5 separate regions of the Homo sapiens genome follow, and all the other regions are linked to region 1. Evidence: promoter capture Hi-C in 16 types of primary human blood cells and fetal thymus (Javierre and others, 2016). All regions are on one chromosome and are shown on one strand. Each heading gives the region's core, a stretch centred on a gene start or on the middle of the fragment in contact. The rest is flanking DNA. Distances are from core to core; before and after follow the strand shown. Region 1 holds the start of MR1 (major histocompatibility complex, class I-related). Region 2 overlaps LOC107985232 (a long non-coding RNA gene). Region 3 has its middle 76 kb from the start of CACNA1E. Region 4 has its middle 15 kb from the start of OVAAL. Region 5 has its middle 99 kb from the start of CACNA1E.

The links. Contacts are between HindIII fragments. The CHiCAGO score rates a contact against its expected background, and 5 or more counts as called.
Region 2: a fragment that was not itself captured here is called in contact with the fragment with the promoter of MR1 in region 1 in 4 of 17 cell types (non-activated CD4 T cells, naive CD4 T cells, naive CD8 T cells and 1 more); the score reaches 7.8 in non-activated CD4 T cells.
Region 3: a fragment that was not itself captured here is called in contact with the fragment with the promoter of MR1 in region 1 in 4 of 17 cell types (non-activated CD4 T cells, naive CD8 T cells, total CD4 T cells and 1 more); the score reaches 6.7 in non-activated CD4 T cells.
Region 4: a fragment that was not itself captured here is called in contact with the fragment with the promoter of MR1 in region 1 in 4 of 17 cell types (naive B cells, total B cells, megakaryocytes and 1 more); the score reaches 7.9 in naive B cells.
Region 5: a fragment that was not itself captured here is called in contact with the fragment with the promoter of MR1 in region 1 in 5 of 17 cell types (total CD4 T cells, activated CD4 T cells, naive CD4 T cells and 2 more); the score reaches 5.9 in total CD4 T cells.

Annotation. Positions count from the first base shown.
Region 1 is chr1:181,032,054-181,035,566 of GRCh38, forward strand. MR1 (major histocompatibility complex, class I-related) reads left to right here and starts at 1,930. Exons shown (of 6, transcript NM_001385161.1): 1 at 1,930-2,021. The coding sequence starts at 1,955. RefSeq lists enhancers at 1,110-1,299, 1,500-1,599, 1,730-1,839. The HindIII fragment of the contact is 2,248 bases long and covers 1,268-3,513 here.
Region 2 is chr1:181,425,614-181,429,363 of GRCh38, forward strand. The region is part of intron 1 of LOC107985232 (a long non-coding RNA gene); the gene reads left to right. It also overlaps a transcript of CACNA1E not described here. Among named protein-coding and RNA genes, the nearest start is that of CACNA1E, 56 kb to the right of the region's middle. The HindIII fragment of the contact is 6,743 bases long and covers 1-3,750 here.
Region 3 is chr1:181,405,438-181,409,119 of GRCh38, forward strand. It overlaps a transcript of CACNA1E not described here. Among named protein-coding and RNA genes, the nearest start is that of CACNA1E, 76 kb to the right of the region's middle. The HindIII fragment of the contact is 4,079 bases long and covers 1-3,356 here.
Region 4 is chr1:180,542,001-180,545,520 of GRCh38, forward strand. No RefSeq gene overlaps it. Among named protein-coding and RNA genes, the nearest start is that of OVAAL, 15 kb to the right of the region's middle. The HindIII fragment of the contact is 6,574 bases long and covers 1-3,520 here.
Region 5 is chr1:181,382,254-181,385,980 of GRCh38, forward strand. It overlaps a transcript of CACNA1E not described here. Among named protein-coding and RNA genes, the nearest start is that of CACNA1E, 99 kb to the right of the region's middle. The HindIII fragment of the contact is 2,778 bases long and covers 477-3,254 here.

The sequences.
Region 1 (3,513 bases), core at 680-3,179:
AGGCACTCACCACCACGCCTGGCTAATTTTTTGTATTTTTAGTAGAGACAGGGTTTCACCATGTTCCAGGATGGTCTCGATCTCCTGACCTCGTGATCTGCCCGCCTCGGCCTCCCAAAGTGCTGGGATTACAGGCGTGAGCCACCGCGCCCGGCCTCATACCTACTTTTTAATGTCAGTACAGCAGGTTATGGTATGGAATGCATTTTGGAACAAGATATTAACAAAAATTCAAAGGAAAAAATACATGGCCATGGAATTCCAGTGCTGAGAGACATTTGGGAATATTGGGGGAGTTTTCCAAAAGAGAAATCCAGGTGACTGTATTTGTTAAATGAGTAACAAAAGGAAAAACAATGTAAAGAAACAGAAAGGAAAGGAAGAGAGAAATACAAAGATCTGAGAAGAGAAGGTGCCAGGGGCCGCTGAGAGATTGCCAAATGTTAATTTCATTATTTGGCTTCTTATTTTATTCTGGGTAAAGGTAGACCTATTAGTTTCCTGTTGCTGCTATAACAAATTACCACCAACTTAGTGGCCTCGAACAATGCAAATTTATTCTTTCAAAGTTCTGGAGGACAGAAGTCCAAAAATGTGTCCTATCAGCTGAAATCAAAGTGTTGTGTTCCTTCTGGAGGCTCTAAGGAGAATCTGTTCCTTCTCTTTTCTAGTTCTAGAGGCCATCTGCGTTCCTTGGCTCATGTCCTTCTTTCAGCAATGGCATCATCACTCTGACCTTTGCTTCCATTGTCACATCTCCTTGACTCTGACCCTTTTGCCTCCCTCTAATAAGGCCCCTCTGATTACACTGGGTCCACCAGATAATCCAGGATAGCTCTCTGTCTCAAGATCCTTAATTTAATCATATCTGCCAAGGGTTTTGTTTTGTTTTATTTTGTTTTTGCCATTTAAGGTAATATATCCACAGGTTCTGGCAATTAGGTTGTGGACATCTTTGGGGCGACAATTCTCAACCTACCATACAACCGGTACATAAGGTTCTACTACCTACTAAATGCATCATAAACAGAACTTCTGATCCTTCAACAACTCTGTGAAATATATGACAGGATTTGCTTTTAAAGTTGAAGAAATCAGGCCTTGGTGCAATTTGGGATTCTGCCCATGGTCAAATAGTGGGGAGGCAAACCCAGGTCCCTGAACCCAGCTCAAGCCTGCCTGCCTCATGGCCATGCCTCCATTCACCTCTCCCCTTCATGTCTACTTCCTCTTTCCTGTCTGGGCCTGTTCCCTAGCTCCCTGGACAAGCTTAAGCTGCTGTTTTCCAGCTTGTCATGTGCTCCTTATGACAGTGTAGCCACAGCTTGATCTTGGGGATTGCTGATTGAGCAAGCTGAGTGGCTGCCCCTCAGAATCTTCTGTAGGCCTTTCTCTTGCCTTCTTTTATTCAGTAAGTGTTTTGAGCTTATTGTGCTGGGTGCTAGAGTAGCAGGGAGGACAGACCTAAGTTGAAGATTACGGGACAATCTAAGTGACACCTGCTATCTCAGACAGAGACTTCAGCATCATAGGGAGCCAGAGCAGGGAGTTCCAAGCCGTGGGAACTGTGACTCTTTCTTACTGACCCTTAAGCAAAATTCTAAGCTCCAGGGAAGCAGAGGCAGCAGCTTGAGCTCCCTGATTGACCAGATATGATTAATCTTTGTTTCTCTGTGCTTTGAACATGACTATGCTCCATAAATATTTAAAAATTGGGAATAGGGTGAAGATAGATACACCAAAAGGAGCAAGCAGTGTCTGAAACCAGCAAAGACTTAAAAGTTACCGAAGAAGGTGTTCATGCTTTCATTTTATCTTTTTTTTTTAACCTAGCAACTGATGACACTGCATATCTTCCCCTGTTCTTATTGGGAGAAGGCCTTGTGTGTCACCAAGAGGTTCTCAGAAGGGACCTGTCAGTTTTTGGTTAAAAGAACCCGGAAAGAGAAGGACTATGGGGGAACTGATGGCGTTCCTGTTACCTCTCATCATTGTGTTAATGGTGAAGCACAGCGATTCCCGTGAGTATCCCACGTCCTCTTCTCTCCTAACTCCAAAGTCGAGGCAGCCTAGAAGGCACAGCTTTTCTTCCTAAAACTTGTGGTGAAAAATATAGAAGCCAGGGGCAGAAACGTGTATGTATTACACTCAGACTCCAGGAGCAATGGATTGCCTGAACAGTTTCCCAGTTCATATTTGTAGGATTTTGATGTCACCACCTTCTGAGGGAGGGGGAGCCGTTCTAGAAAGACTCTGGAACTTCCTCACTTTCCCTCTGAGCATGGCCTCCTTTCTTTTCTGCTCATATTTTTTCTTTTACTTTTGTTTCTCCTCTTTTCTAACTTCCAGAGTCTCATGAGGATGTAGTCAGAGTTTCAGGGGCATTAACAGTGGAGTAGATCCATTGTTCAGGTTTATTTATGTTTTTCCTCAACACAAGCCCTACCTGTAATAAAAGATCCAAGAAAGATAAAACCATGGCTCTGGGTTTGTTTACTGACTGTGAGAAGTATTAATCAAGTAGAAGGGAGAGTTTTTCATTATTCGGGGAGCTCAAGTCACTGGGGAAGCAAATGCCTTCTGTTGCCTCAAATAGGGGAAAGGGCCCATGGGCTAGAACCACCAGGCTTCTCTGCCCTAATCACTTGCTCCCTGGGCTGAGGACTGGTACTGGTGGGCAGTGTCCAGAACTTAGACTTGGCCACCACCATAGGTGTGACTGATGAACATGAGAGGAAGGAGTTCTTTCAAATCACCCATGCACATAGAGAGTGGAATGACTGACCATGGAGATTTGGAAGGGCGAGGGGGGTGGATGATTAGAAATTACTTAATGGGTACAATGTGTGTTACTTGGGTGATGGATACCTTAAAGCCCCAACTTGACCACTACACAATCTATGCTATAACAAAATTGCATGTGTACATCATAAATTTATACAAATAAAAAAATTTTAAATCATATGGCTGGGAGTGGTGGCTCACACCTGTAATCCTAGCACGTTGAGAGGCCGAGGCAGACGGATCGCTTGAGGTCAGGAGTTTGAAACCAGCTTGGCCATCATAGTGAAACCCCATCTCACTAAAAATACAAAAAATTAGCTCGGCACACCCATCTCTACTAAAAATACAAAAAATTAGCTGTGCACAGTGCGCACCTGTGATCCCAGCTACTCGGGAGACTGAGGCAGGAGAATCACTTGAACCCAGGAGGCGGAGGTTGCAGTGAGCCGAGATCATGCCACTGCACTCTAGCCTGGGTGACAGAGTGAGACTCCATCTCAAAAAAAAAAAATCCATATATTAATTGTTCAAATATTGATTGATGGCCTACTATGTGCCAGGCACTTTGGGGGATATGGCAGCGAACAAGACAAACATAGTCTCTGCTTCCATGAAAATTTAATCCAGAAAGTGTCATCATTTATGGGAAAGATTGGGGGTGAGGGTAAGAGGCAGAAGATGAAAGAGGAAAGGAGGAGAGAGGCAAAGGGTGATATTTTTGGAAATAAT
Region 2 (3,750 bases), core at 136-2,635, 390 kb after region 1:
ACTTCTCATTGAAGGTGCAGGTGAGAAGGCTGAGGCGCAGAGAAGGAGGTGGGCGTGGGGCACCCTTCTGAGGACCCCACCTCAGCCGCTCATACCCCAGCCACACTGTCCTCCTTCTCTTCTCTTCTGCTTTTAGCTCCTTTAACCATCTTTCTCTTCCTCTTTTTCTCTCGAAGCCTGTAGCAGGGAGGGAATGAAGGCATGCAGGGTTGGCGTGTGAGTGAGGAAGAGGGCTTGTCCCCCTTTCCCCTCTGTCCCTGCCCCCGCCTCTCCTGGGGACCTCCTTGCAGACCCTCTGCAGCTGTGCTCACATCCCACTACTCAGCCTCACTGCTGTTCTAAAAAGGCAGCATTACTGCCTGCTGATCAGGTGATGAGGAACCTGCAACCCTTCCCAAATTTATAAAGAAAACAGAGGAATTCAGTAAATTCTCTTTCTGCTCTTGGAGTAGGACAGACCAGTGGTCAGTTCTGGGGACAGTGCTCCTGGTGTGGAGACAGTGTTGGCTGGACACACCCAGCTTGGGTGCACTGGGGTCAGGTGGTCAGGTCTAACTGCATCCCCCTCCTGTCACTCCATCTCAACAATTCCCCAACCCAGTCCTACCCCATCTCAACCCTTCCTCAACCCAACCTCTCTCCATCTCAAGTCCTCCCCATTTCAGCCACTATCCGTCTCAAGCCCTTCCTATGTCAACCCTTATCAATTAAACTCCTCCTCATCTGAACCCTTCCCTAACTCAACCCAGCTCATCTCAACCCCTTCCCATCTCAACCGCTTCCCATCTCAGCCACTTCACAACTCAACCCCTTCACAACTCAACCCCATTCCCATCATGGCCCCATCACAACTCAACCCCTTCCCATCTCATTCCCTTCAAAACTCAACCCCTTCCTGTCTCAACCCCTTCACAACTCAACCCCTTAACAACAGAACCCCTTCCCATCTCAACCACTTCACAACTTAACCCCTTCACAACTCAATCCCTTCCCATCTCAACCCCTTCCCAACTCAACCCCTTCCCATCTCAACCCCTTCCCATCTCTACCCCTTTACAATTCAACCCCTTCACAACTCAACCCCTTCCCATCTCAACCCCTTCCCATCTCAACCCCTTCACAACTCAGCCCCTTCCCGTCTCAACCCCTGTCAATCTCAACCCCTTCACAACTCAACCCCTTCCTATTTCAACCCCTTCCCATCTCAACTCCTTCCCATCTAAACCCCTTCACATGTCAACCCCTTCACAACTCAACCCCTTCACATCTCAACCCCTTCACAACTCAACCCCTTCCCATCTCAACCCTTCACAGCTCAACCGCTGCCCATCTCAACCCCTTCACAACTCAACCCCTTCCCATCTCAACCCTTTCCCATCTCAGCCCCTTCCCACCTCAGCTTCTTCACATCTCTACCCCTTCCCATCTCAACCCCTTCACAACTCAACCCCTTCCTTACTCAATCCCTTCCTATCTCAACCCCTTCACAACTCAACCCCTCTCCATCTCAGTGTCTCCCCAACTTGACCCTTCAACATCTCAACCACACTCATCTCAACGCCTCCCTATTTCACCCTCTCCCCATCTCAAGCCTACCTCATCTGAACTCTACCCATCTCACCACACCCATCTCAACCCTCACCCATCTCAACCTCTGCCCCATCTCAACCTCACTCATCTCAACTCCTTCCCTATCTCTACCCCTGCCCGTCCCAACCCCTCCCATCTCAATTCCACCGCCATCTCAACTCCTCCCCCATCTTAACCCCTCCTCACCTCATTCCTTCTCCATCTCAACCCCCTCCACCTCAACTTCTCCCTCATCTCAGCCTCTTCCTCATCCTAACCCCTCCCACCTCAACCCTTCCCCATCTCAAGACTTCCCCATCTCAACTGCTCTCTACCTCAACTCCTCCTCCATCTCAACCCCTCCCCAACTTCAACCCCTCCCCCACCTCAACTCCTCTCCAACTTCAACCCTTCCCCCACCTCAACTCCTCTACCATTGCAACTCCTCCCCCATCTCAACTCCTCCTCCATCTCAACCCCTCCCCCACCTCAACCTCTCCCCATCTCAACTCCTCTCTCATCTCAGCCCCTCCCCCAGCTGCCATCTGTTATGGTTGCTTCTTTCCCCTGTGTTTATACTTAAGCTGGGAAAAATTCCCCCTCCCTCCCTCCCTCCTCCCCTTCCCTCTTTCTGTGATGAACATGAAATTATATTACACATATAGGTCTTTGTTTTGCTCTTATTCTTTTAGTTTTTAAAAATTACAGGATATGGTGTGCATCTTTCTTTGGCCATTTCTGGAAAGATGTCCATAACATCTCTTTCACGCTGCAGAGTATTCCTCAGCATGACTGAACCACAGTTTATTCCAGCAACCCTATCAATGGATGTTCCCAGTTGCTTTGCAGTTACCAGCTGTGCTGTAGTAAGCCTCCCCTACATGCCTTTAGGATGTGCACTTTCATTTCTGTAGGGTCAAGTCCTAGAAGTGGGACTGTGGACAAGTCTTTCCCACGCTATGCCCTCACTCTCCGGAGGACTGGCACTTCTCTCAACACCCCTCCTCAGCATCTCAGCCTCAAATTGAAATGTGAACTTTCACAGTCTGTGTTATCTCTCTGGCCCCACTGGAGAGGCCCGATGAATTAATAATATGCCAGCAGGAAACAGAGAGATGGAGTTATTAATTGTCAGTCCATGAGCCCACCCTCTCAAGGTCCTAATTAGCATGCTGACAGCTTCGGTTTTATCCAGAGCTAGGGCAAGGCTCTGGGGACACTGTGGCTCAGCTAGGGGCATCCGGCACAGAGTGGAGAGCCCTGGTGCCTTTCTGGGTGGGGTGGAGGGGCGCTTGCAAGAGGCTTGTGAATTCAGAAGTTCCTTCAGGGATCCCTTTGTGCCTGCTGTGGGGTAGGGGAGAGAAACAGGCTGGGAGTGGGGGCAGGAATGGGAGTTTTAGTGTCCAGGTGGTGGTGATGGTTGGTGTGTGCTGCTCTTGGGCCCCAGTGGTGGGTTTGTGATTCTGGTTCTGCTGCAGGACAGTGACACTCACCAAGCTGTGTTGGGTGTAGTTGTCTCAGGGAGGTGCCTGCTTTCAAACCAAAGTTCCTTTGATGGGGAGGACTGACCCCAGGAAGACTGATTGCGTATCAATATTACTCTAACCCATGGCCCTCTTTCATAACATGCACACTCCTGGAAAGGATATCATTAAATCTGGCATTGGTGCATGGCCAGGCTCACATAGGGTTGCTCAAGAAATGTTGCTGTAAAGGAGGCCGGGTGCGGTGGCTCATGCCTGTAATCCCAGCACTTTGGGAGGTTGAAGTGGGTGGATCATTTGAGGTCAGGAGTTCAAGACCAGCCTGGCCAATATGGTGAAACCCCATCTCTACTAAAAATATAAAAATTAGCTGGGCATGGTGGCACACGCCTGTAATCCCAGCTATTTGGGAGGCTGAGGCAAGAGAATCGCTTGAACCTGGGAAGCAGAGGTTACAGTCAACCGAGATCACAACACTGCACTCCAACCTGGGCAACAGAGTGAGATTCCATCTTAAAAAAAACAAAAAAGAATTGTTTCTGTAAAGGAAACTACCTATAGGAAGCTGCGTGACCTTGGCCAGGCCTCTTCACCTCTCTGGGCCCTTTTTAATGTGGATTAGAGGTGGTCCTTATTTTGGTTTGCTCCATACTGGGCAGCCAGAACCATCTAGAACACCAGCCAGGACTTGCTCCCC
Region 3 (3,682 bases), core at 67-2,566, 370 kb after region 1:
TGGCATTTCAATTTGTTTCTCCAAGTCCAAGGGGTTGTAGCATTTTGTTTTCTTTCCAGTTAACTATTACTGACTCCTAGTGACTTTTCCTTCCAGAGACTGTCCAAGGAGTAGTTTTCTGTCCTTAGTTTTCTACCTCCCTTAAGTTCCTTAGAAAAGTATGGGAAACTGCAAAATATCTTCTTTCCTCCGTACCTGTTTACCTTTCTCCCTCTCTCCTCCCCTCACTCCTTCCTTTTATAAGCACTTACTGAATGCTTACAATTACTACATTTCTGCTCTCCAGTGGTTAAGCAGGGCCAGGTGACTGAATTCTGGCTAATGGAATGTGGAGAGTTGATATACACCACTTCTAGGCCTTGCCTGTAAGCCTCATGCAAAATCTTTCAAGTGCTTAGTCTTTTTCTTTGTCTCCCAGCTGGAGAGAAAAAGAGTTTAGGAAGACTCTGAGGCCCAGGGCTTGGGTGTTAGCAGGACCAGGTGCCTGTTTTTGTAAATAAAAAATTTTATTGAAATACAGCCGTATCCATTTGTTTATATATTGTCTATGCTGCTTTCACACTGAAAAGGCAGAGTTGTGTAGTTGCAACTAAGATCTTATGGCCTGCAATGGCTAAAATATTTACTATCTAACCCTTTAAGAAAAAAATTTGCTTAACCCTTCCCCAGGGGATGGCAGAGCCACTGAATGAAAGGAACCTGGTTCCCTGAATGACTATGTAGAGCAGAGTCTCTCTTTCCCATCTTCCAGGCCAACTTGCATCATTAGACAGTGATATTGGAGAGAAATAAGTTTTTATTTTATTAAGCTATAGATATTTTGAGGTTGTTTAATACAAACATAAGTTATTTTACATAATAAAAATGGTAGCTAATATTTATTGGGCATTTTTTATGGCCAGGTGCTGTTCTATGAGCTTCTGTATTTAATTCTCACAACTTTATGATGTATCTACCTTTCTTTTTTTTCTTTTTTTGAGATGGAGTCTCGTTCTGTCTCCCAGGCTGGAGTGAAGTGGCGCGATCTCGGCTTGCTATAACTTCTACCTCCTGGGTTCAAGAAATTCTCTGCCTCAGCCTCCTGAGTAGCCGGGATTACAGGCACCTGCCAGCATGCCCGGTTAATTTTTTTGTCTTTTTAGTAGAGACAGAGTTTCACCATCTTGGCCAGGCTGGTCTCAAACTCCTGACTTTTTGATCCACCCGCCTCAGCCTCCCAAAGTGGATGTATCTACTTTACATGTATCTACTTAATCTGTAAAATGATGTATGATCATTTTACAGATTAAGATATGCAAGGCTATGTAATTTGCCGAGGGATTCAGTTGGTGAGCGTGGAGTTGGGATTCATACCCAGCTTCAGAGCGTAGGCTCCTAACTTCTATTTTTTTGCCCCATATTTACCTAACTTACAGTTCCAAGTTCCTCCCCAGATACTATGTTGATTCTTATCACAGGCTTCTGTAGGGCAGGTTATATTATTATCCTCATTGTTTATGTGAGAAAACTGACCTAGAGAAGTCAAGCTAAAGGTTGCTTGACTAGCAAGTGGCAGAAATGTAGCCTGAACCCAGAGCTTCTGATACCAGAATACGGACTCTTTCAACTCCTCCGCAGAGACTCAGACTGACTTAGTGCACACTCCATATTTGAAGCTGTGTTTTCCTTGAGTCTTGGTTTACATTCAGAATGCACCAGCCTGTTAAATTGCTGTTGGACATTAGCCCATCCTTGAACAGTCACCATAACAACATAGGCACATGGAGAGGAATGTGGGGTAGGCAAAAACTGATGCCAGTCCAGGGGAGAATAGAGCTTTGCAGGGAGTGGGGGTGGGTCAGGGAACACTTCCTGGGTGTGTTTTGCTATGTTCTTTTCATGATATAGACTGGAAATGATTGAGAAGGACACTGTTCTAGTGGCTTTTAGCAACCTGACTCATCCAGGACAATACCTCTTACCAACTTAGCACAACCTCTCAGGCTGACACACTGCTTTTAGGACAGTGTTTGAAGACATGGTTCCTAGGGGGAAAGGGTGTCTATTAACAATGTAGGTTCCTGAACCCACCCAAGATCTACTGCATGAGAATCTCTGAAGAGACATCCAGGAATCTGCATTTTTAACCAGCAATGTAGATGGTTCTGATGTACATTAGAGATTGAGAAGTGCGGTCTTAGGAAGTCATGGTAAATGAAAATCATGCCCAGCTTTTACTCCTCCTTTTTCAGTCAGGTAGCAGGCTGGCTCAGCTAAGAAAAATCCCTAGATGAATATTTATTTCTGCACAGGGAATGTTTCCTCTCAGAGTAGGCGGGTGAGTATGCTGAGTAGGTCATTCCCTGCCATTCCTATTGCTGGGCAGGAAACCCATTTTACTGTATCAGTTCTCTCTCAAGAGAATCATTTTTAGAATTAACTCAACACGATATATAAGTTGTAGAGTATCATATCTCAAAATTTGTTTCCATCTTATAACTTTTAATTTCTAACAGGTGGGAATTAGGACATCTTTACCCTCATCCAGCCTATGGCAGACAGAGGGTACAGAGCCAAGATAGCTCAGGGCCAGCTTGGGGACACTTGTATGCCTACCACTCACCTCGTAGTGTTCATCAGTTCCATTTCTGTCCACTATCTCTTAGCCAATGTGCTTGGTGGTCTATGCAGTGGAGATTTCTTTGCTGAACTCAGAACTTTCAGGGAATAAAGATAGTAGACTTAGAAAAGCATGAGTTTCATTGACTTGCTGGTGTATCCACTTCTCACAAGGTAAGTTGGAGGATGCACATGTTCTGGAGGAATCAGAAAGAGAGTGGTGGAGGGGTGGGAATAGGATGGGCATGCACCCAAGGAAAGGAAGATGAATGTCCTCAATGTGACAGACTCATCTTTAAGGGTCTGAGAGGCACAGATAAGCCAAAGGGGTGCATGGACCATTATTTCTAAAGCAGTAAAAAATAGATGAATTAAGAAGTAAAACTCTTGATAGGGTATAAAGGGAAAGATGGTGCAAAGGACATAATATTTCTTCATGGACAAAGATCTTGACTTTGACTCTGGAAGGGTGACAGGGAAGACAATTTCAGAAGTAGGCTATGAGCTCGAGTGTTTTTGGCAGTGCAGGGTGCTTGTGTGGGGGTGGAGGAAGAGAGCCCTTATTCTGCCATTCCACTGTGCCCTGACAGGGAAGGGAAGGGTTTTTCTGGGGCTGCTGGATTACACTAAACGCTCTTCCACCCCAGGATCCCCATAATTTAAAATCACACCCTCTGCTCATTAACCAAACTTAGCAATGAAGAATAAGAAGAGAAGTAGGTAGGAAGCAAGGGTTAGAGTCAGACTGGTGCTCTCAAAGCTTTCATTAGCTCGTTCTTGGGCAAGTTTTGCAGAGCTCATCTTATAACTTTTAATTTCGAAGCAGGCCCTCTTCTCCCTCTCTTCAGGAGTGTTGAGTGTGAGCTATAGGACAGCAACTTTGCTCTCAGGAAGCTGCTCACCTGGGTCCACCCCTCATTCTCTTTTGTAGATCTCCATTTCCTATTTTTGCCAGGTTCTCTGTAGAACCTGCTTCCATGGGCGTAGGCTGAATGACAATAATGGAGTCCAAGAGACGCAGATGAAAGACCAAAGTTTACAGGACTTTATAAATAAAGTTTTATCAGAACACAGTCATTCCCAT
Region 4 (3,520 bases), core at 816-3,315, 490 kb before region 1:
AATTAGCTCTCATGCCAAAAACAAAAAAACAAAAAAGGTTGCTGACCAAAAGTTTTTGGCAGTAGAAACTCAAGATTGGTAGGCCATGGGCAACGGATTGAATACTGATAGCAAGGGAGGCCATGAGGGGCGATTGAAACCTGGACCAGAGGTGAACATTACCGGGGCTGGAGGTGGTGAGAGTTTCTGGTGAAAGTGAATTCTGTATCCTGGAGTCTGGGGGAAAGAGAGGGCTGTAAAGTGAGACAGGCCAGTGCTCTGTCAAGAACTGGGGGAAGAGGAGAGAGATCCAACCGAGACACAGGCTGCAGGATTCCACCTCTGCTCGCTGGGTGCCATCCAGGCCATGTTACACCCCCGTTGCTTCTTGGAATGTGCTATCCTGTCTCCAGCAGAGCAGGGCTAGTCTTTGGCTAGTCTTTCCTCTGGAAACAGAGAAAACGTGTAGAGAGAAAAAAATAGAAATTACTGTTTTCTCTGGAGTTCACATGCCCTAAAATGACAAGATTCTCTTAACAGTGCTTTTTAGGAATAGGCATGGTGTGATTGTGGGAGGCTTGGGAAGGGCTGTCTCTGCTCCCAAAATATTTCCCCTCCCTCTTTCTTTACCTAAAATTCTACCCAAACGGGTGAGGTCTTTCTTTTCCACATCTAGAGCTCAGTTTACAGTGTTAAAATTCTTGGCTATGACTGCAGCTTATTCACCCTAATGCAGAAAGGACTAAGATCACGTTCTTCCTTCCCTTGCTGGCAAAAACTAGAGACAGCAGAGGGCCCTGGGAATAGGGAGGATGAAAACAAACTTAAATTATCTACAACGTGGCTGAGCACTGTTTCTCTGAATCTACTGGACAAATAGAAGTGGATGAAGAGTATGCAGCCATGTCTATTCTCAGACGGCACTCTGAAGAAGACTAAAGTACCTACATTCCCTTAATGACTCAGGCATCAGAGACATCTCCTCTCTCCCAGGCCCCACTCAGAAAAAATGTCAGATGCTGAACATATCCATAGCAACCAAGAACACTCCTCGGTGCCACCTTGGCCTCAGTTCCTGAATTTCTGAAATGGATTGAGAGAGAGAGGGAGAGGAGGAGGGGGAGAGGGAGAAGAAGAGGGGAGGAGGGAGGAGGGAGAAAAAGGGGGAGAGAAGAAGAGGGGAGGGGGAGGAGGGGGAGAGGGAGAGGGAGAGGAAGAATCATACTTCTATATTTATCTTTTCCCTCCCTACTCTGGGATTTTATAAAAATTAATAAAATAGTGACTGCACCTGGCCCCCTGGAAGAAGACCCCTTTCTGTGCCGTGGGAATGATGCCATTTTCTTCCCATATTCTCCTCAGATGTCTTTTCCATTAATCACCTGATTTTGAGAAGCATAAAGGAATTTGGTGTCCTTTCTATTTTAGTCCATCATATTATTTTGTAACTCAACCATATTTGTAAAGAAAAGCTAGGTTGTATTCCCACTAACAGTTCAACAGAGCAATGTTCCAAGTGGGTTGTAGTAAAATAATGTTAATCTTTTTCTTGGAGCAGGAAGAAATACAGCAACCCTTTGTCAGTCTTCCACTTGCTGCAAGAAATGGGAATCTTGCAGAAACACTGGACTTGCATAGGCAATGAGAAAGCATTGAAAGAATAGTTCACCAAGAAATGGTAGTTCCTCTTTTACTTTTTTTTTTTTTTGAGACGGAGTTGTGCTCTTTTTGCCCAGGCTGGAATGCAATGGTGTGATCTCGGCTCACCGCAACCTCTGCCTCCCGGGTTCAACCGATTCTCCAGCCTCAGCCTCCCGAGTAGCTGGGATTACAGTCATGCACCACCACACCTGCCTAATTTTGTATTTTTAGTAGAGACGGGGTTTCTCCATGTTGGTCAGGCTGGTCTCAAACTCCTGACCTCAGGTAATCCGCCCGCCTCGGCCTCCCAAAGTGCTGGGATTACAGGCATGAGCCACCGCCCCTGGCCGGCAGTTCCCCTTTTATTTTAATGACACGCTCCCTCTTTTCTTTAGGAATATATCCCTCCTCACCCCCTCAGGCCCTGGTGAGGTTGTCAATCACAGTACCCCATCCCTCTTCTGGCTCCAGTGGGAAATATGCTGACCCAGATTGGCCAATCTGAGTACACCATCATTCTGACCATTGTCATTAGTTCAGGGCAGGCAAATGACCCAAGCCAGTCAATCAGGGCTGTCAAAAGCTGGCACTGCACAATCCAACAGAACTTGTTTACTCTGCAGCAACGTCCTTGCCAGCTCAGGTCCCTGCTGTGATGGACTCCTGGCCTGACTCTGAGGTTTGTTCACACTCTCAGTGCCCAGCCAGGGCAGCTACATGCCGAGGGGCTTCCTGCCTATGCCACACGTTCACCAGAGCACTGCCAAGGTTCCAGGGAAATGGAGCCGACTGGGTTTGTCAGAGCCAGGTCTCAGACAATACTTTTGGATCTGCTGTGGTAGGGATGAACCAGTCCCTCTGAGGAAAGAATATTCCTGTGACGTGTAAGAAATACATATTTGGGCTGGGCACAGTGGCTCATGCCTGTAATCCCAGCACTTTGAGTGGCAGAGGCGGGAGGATTGCTTGAACCCAGGAGTTCATGACTGGACTGGGCAACATAGCAAAAACTGTCTCTACAAAAAGTACAAAAATTAGCTGGGCATGGTGGTACACTCCTGTAGTCCCAGCTACTTGGGAGGCTGAGGTGAGAGGATTGATTGAACCCTGGAGGTCAAGGTTGTAGTGGGCCATGGTTGTGCCACTGCACTCCAGCCTGGTGACAAAGCAAGACCCTGTCTAAACAAACAACAACAACAACAACAAAACAAAAAACAAAACAAAACAAAAAAACAGAGAGAGAAATACATATTTGGTCTCTGCCCTCTGGGGCCCCATGAGTAGACACTGGAAACTTTTAGTCCCATCCTTTGTCCTTCAGGGAGGGGAGAGGAGCTAGAGATTGAGTTAGTAATGCCTACCTAATGAAGCCTCCATACAAATCCCTAAAGTATGGGGTTTGGAGAGCTTTGGTGTTCGTGAGCGAGACTGCACCCACATACTGAGAGGGTGGCAGAACTCGTTCATGGAGACAGAAGATTCCTATGCTCAAGACCCTTCCAGACCTTGCCCTATGTGTCTCTTCATGTGGTTGTTTGTTTGTATTCTTTAATATGTCCTAATAAACTGGTAATCTAGTAAGGAAACTGTTCTCCTGAGTTCTGCAAGCTGCAATAGCAAACGGTCAAACCTGTGGAGAGGGTCCTGGGAACCTCTGATCTGGAGCCAAGTCAGGCAAAGTTGTGGGTAAACTGGGGACTCACCACTTGCAGTTGACATCTAGGGTAGGGGGCAGTCTCATGAAATCATGCCCTTAGCTTGTGAGATCAGATGCTAACTTCAGGTAGATAGTGTCAGAATTGAGTTGACTTGTGGAACACCTGGTTGGTGTCTTCTGAGAAGTGAGGAATAGGTGTTGGGAAAAAAATCCCACACATCTGGCGTCAGAAGTGCTCTGTAG
Region 5 (3,727 bases), core at 616-3,115, 350 kb after region 1:
GGCAGTGTGGCTAGAGTTGGTAAGGGAGAGGAAGGTAGTGTGAGACTGGGTTTGGCTGGTAGGCTGTGGTGAGTTTAGATTTTATTTTCAGGACAATAGAAAGTTATCAATGGGTTTTTAGAAAGGTCACTCTGGCTGCAAGCGAACAAGTGCTTGTGGAGTGGGGAGGAGTGGAAGCCAGAATCAGCTAAGATGTTCTTTGAGTAGTTCAGGTGCATCCAGTGACTTGGGCTAGGTTAATGGCAGTGGAGAGGAAGAATTTAAGGTAGGAAGAGCAGGATTTGATAAAACCCAGTGTGTCTAGGAATCTTGTTGATGACCAAATCATTTGGGCCTTGAAATTTTAGAGTTGGAAGTGAGTTAGGGATGGCCTAATATTACTCCTTGACCAACCACCTTATTTTCCACTCTGCTCTGTACAAATACCTTAGCAAATAGCAATAACAATCTTCTCTCAAATGTGTGTGGTCCTTTAAAGCTTCCCGTGTGCTTCATAATCAATGTTTCCTTTAAGGGCATGGCTTGACCCAACCTTTAGCTCAGCCCATTGCTCAGGTGCTCTGCTCCAGCTGATCTGGTCTTATCTTGCTAGTCAGATGCAGGGAATGGTGGTTCCTGTGTTGTAAAGTGGGACTCATGCAGAAGGGGCGGAGGCTTAGGTGGTGGGATGAAGCTGGAGAAGTGACTCCTCTCCAGAGACTGGCTCTGAGTACACAGCCAGCCATCTTGTCTTAAGACAAGGCCAGGACAGCTGCCTCCTCTTCTGGGGACCTCCTCCCCACATTCCAGCCTGTTCAAATCAGGCCGTGTTCACAGTCCATATTGTAATGTGTTCTCCTTAATGGGATCTTTCTCTGCTTTCCCCCCGGGGCCGCATCTCTCATTCCTTTGAACTTCCCCATTGGTATCTCTTTTCAGGCATTTATCTCAGCCCAATTGTTATACTTACTTCCAACTTTCCTTGAGTTATAGTGTCTTTCACTTCTTTATTCCCCACAGCCCCACTTGCATGTAGCTCATGCATATAGCACAGTCCAGTGAAGGTTGTTTAATTGAACTCATTCAAGGTCAAATACATCCTTTGGATGTGGTAGGTGCACAGAAAAATTAGAAGGGAGCTAAGATTCCCTGGTGAATGCTGATTCATTTATCTCTACACAGGTATGATGATGAGGCAAGCGGGGGCAGAAAGGAAGCAGAAGTAGTAAACGGAGCAGTTGGGAGTGCTTAGAACTAAGAAAGTATGTGTGTGGCAAATGCCTTTAGAAAACTCTGACTGAGCAGGAGCCTGACCACCATCTTAACTCTTCCTCATTTAAAATTTAAAACGGTCTGTGGGGAGAGACTCTCCTTTTAGGATCATCAATCTGATTTTGTTCCAGAACTCAGTTGGGAAATTAGGTTTTTATTTTAGGAATTTGCTAGAATATACTGTGGCAGAAACTGGCAAATGCTCACTAAACCCATTTCCTTTTCTTCCTGGGCACACAGCTCAACTATATTTCCCTGCCTCCCTTACGGGGTATGAACATGTGACCAAACTCTGGCTGTGGAGCGTAGGCAAAAGGGATGTGTGGCACCTCCAGACCTGACCCACAAAACCTCCTACATCATCATCCAGGCCTTTTCTCTTATTTCCTGCTGGCTGCATGCCAGAGATCTGGCAGAGGGCAGCACTGCCCAACAGAACTTTCCACGGTGATGCAACTTTCCATGCCTCTGCTATCCACTATGATAATCATGTGCTCACTGAGCGCTGGAAATGGAGCGAATGTGACTGAAAAACTGCATTTTTTACTTTATTTAATTTTAATTCATTTAAACTGCCCTACGTGGGTATGGCTGCCACATTGGGCACCACAGCTTTTGATGCAAGGATTCTGGTTCCTGGGTGACTGGATGGAGCAGAATCTCCTGTTTACCTGCACTGCGCAGTGAAGTACATGAGAAATCAGTATGGTGTTAAGACACGGAGATGCGATATCTATGCCATAAAGTGAGGGATACCTGCTGATTCACCTATACTAAAAATTCATATAGTATACATCTCAGCTGGATACCAACGTGGCTGGACAAACCCAGTATCTAATGTCAAATCCAATTATCCAGTGTCATTCTTAGAAGGAAAATCTACTCTTCTTTTGCCTCTCTTGAGCTCCCAATCTTTCTTCACCCTATTTTATTGGGGAAAAATGGAGGCCCTCCAAGCAACACTACTTCCTTTTTCCATGTAGGGTAGCAGAGTGAACTCAGGGTTCTCGTTTCTTCTCCATCATAGCTCACTGTGTGACTCAGGCAAGTTACATTTCTTCTCTGATTATTGGCTTCCTCATCTTTAAAGTTGCGATTTCTGGTTTTGGTTCTTTTTCTAAAATGCTCCTTTCAAATATCTGCTCTCTCTCTGCACCCTTTGTGCTTCTCCTCCTATCTTGGAAGGGACGATCCTCACTCCTGGTGTTCCCGGTACAAGCCCCTCCCAGACCCTGCCATGTTCCATTCTGCCCTCTGATAGCATTAGGAGATATACCTAATGCTAAATGACGAGTTAATGGGTGCAGCACACCAGCATGGCACATGTATACATATGTAACTAACCTGCACATTGTGCACACGTACCCTAAAACTTAAAGTATATAATAATAAAATAAAATAAAAGAAATCTTTCCTGCTTTCCTGCCTCTTTCCTCTTTACCAATGATTAAGCCCATACCTGCTATCACTACTGCCTTCCATTTCACTTACCTTCACTCTTTCCAGCCTAGATTTTGCCCTGATGTCTCTGCTGAGATGGATTTTGGGAATATCACTGTAAATACCCTCCCTTCAGCTTACAAAGGGCGGTCTCTGGGGACAGGGTGAGTCTCTCCTGTCTCAGCAGAGAAAGACACTTAATCCTGTTGCATGGCTCTTCTCCTTTCATCTATAAATTCTAGACTCTTACCTCCTACACTGCCAGGGTGTCATGAGAATTAAAAGTTTGTAAATTGCCTTGAGTTCCTTGGAGATAGCTAGCGAGTGCAAGTAATAAAAATCATTTCATATAAAGCTGTTGAAAAACAGGCAGTGAATTGGTTCACAGTCTCCCTCATTGGGTTATGATTATGAACATCTCCGATGGAATATCACATTACAGCAAGACAGGTGATGCCTGTGTTCAGCTGCTAATTGTAATAAAGAGCTTAATTTGCACTTCTTCTATTTTTCATTTCACTGGGTTGGGGAGTGGAGGTGACAGGGATGGGGATATTCAAGGAAGCTTTATAAGCGCGTCCTTGAATTGGTGATGGGGAGATGATTGTTCTAGCATTGTAAATAGCCAAAGCTAGACGGCTTGCTGCCATGAACTCTCCAGCTATTCTGTTACTTAATTACTATTGTTTTTCCTGTTTCCTAAGGCAGGGACTTTGAATCCGTCATTTCTGCCCCTACCCCTTCCTTCCTTTTGTTTTCCTTACTTTTATTTCCTTCCCTACTCCACTTCCTTCCTTTCCTTCCTCTTTCCTCCTCTCCTCTCTTACTTCCCTCCCTCCTTTCTTCCCTCCCTCCCTCCCTCCGTTTCTCCATTCTTTCCTTCCTTTGTTCCTTTCCTCCTCTCTTTACCTTCCTTTCTTTCCTCTCTCCCTCCCTCTCTTCCTCCCTTCCTTCATTTATTTTACTCTTATTCCTCATAATTTTGATCATCTACCATATATATACTGAAGAGAGTAGAGATAAAGTAGCAAATGAG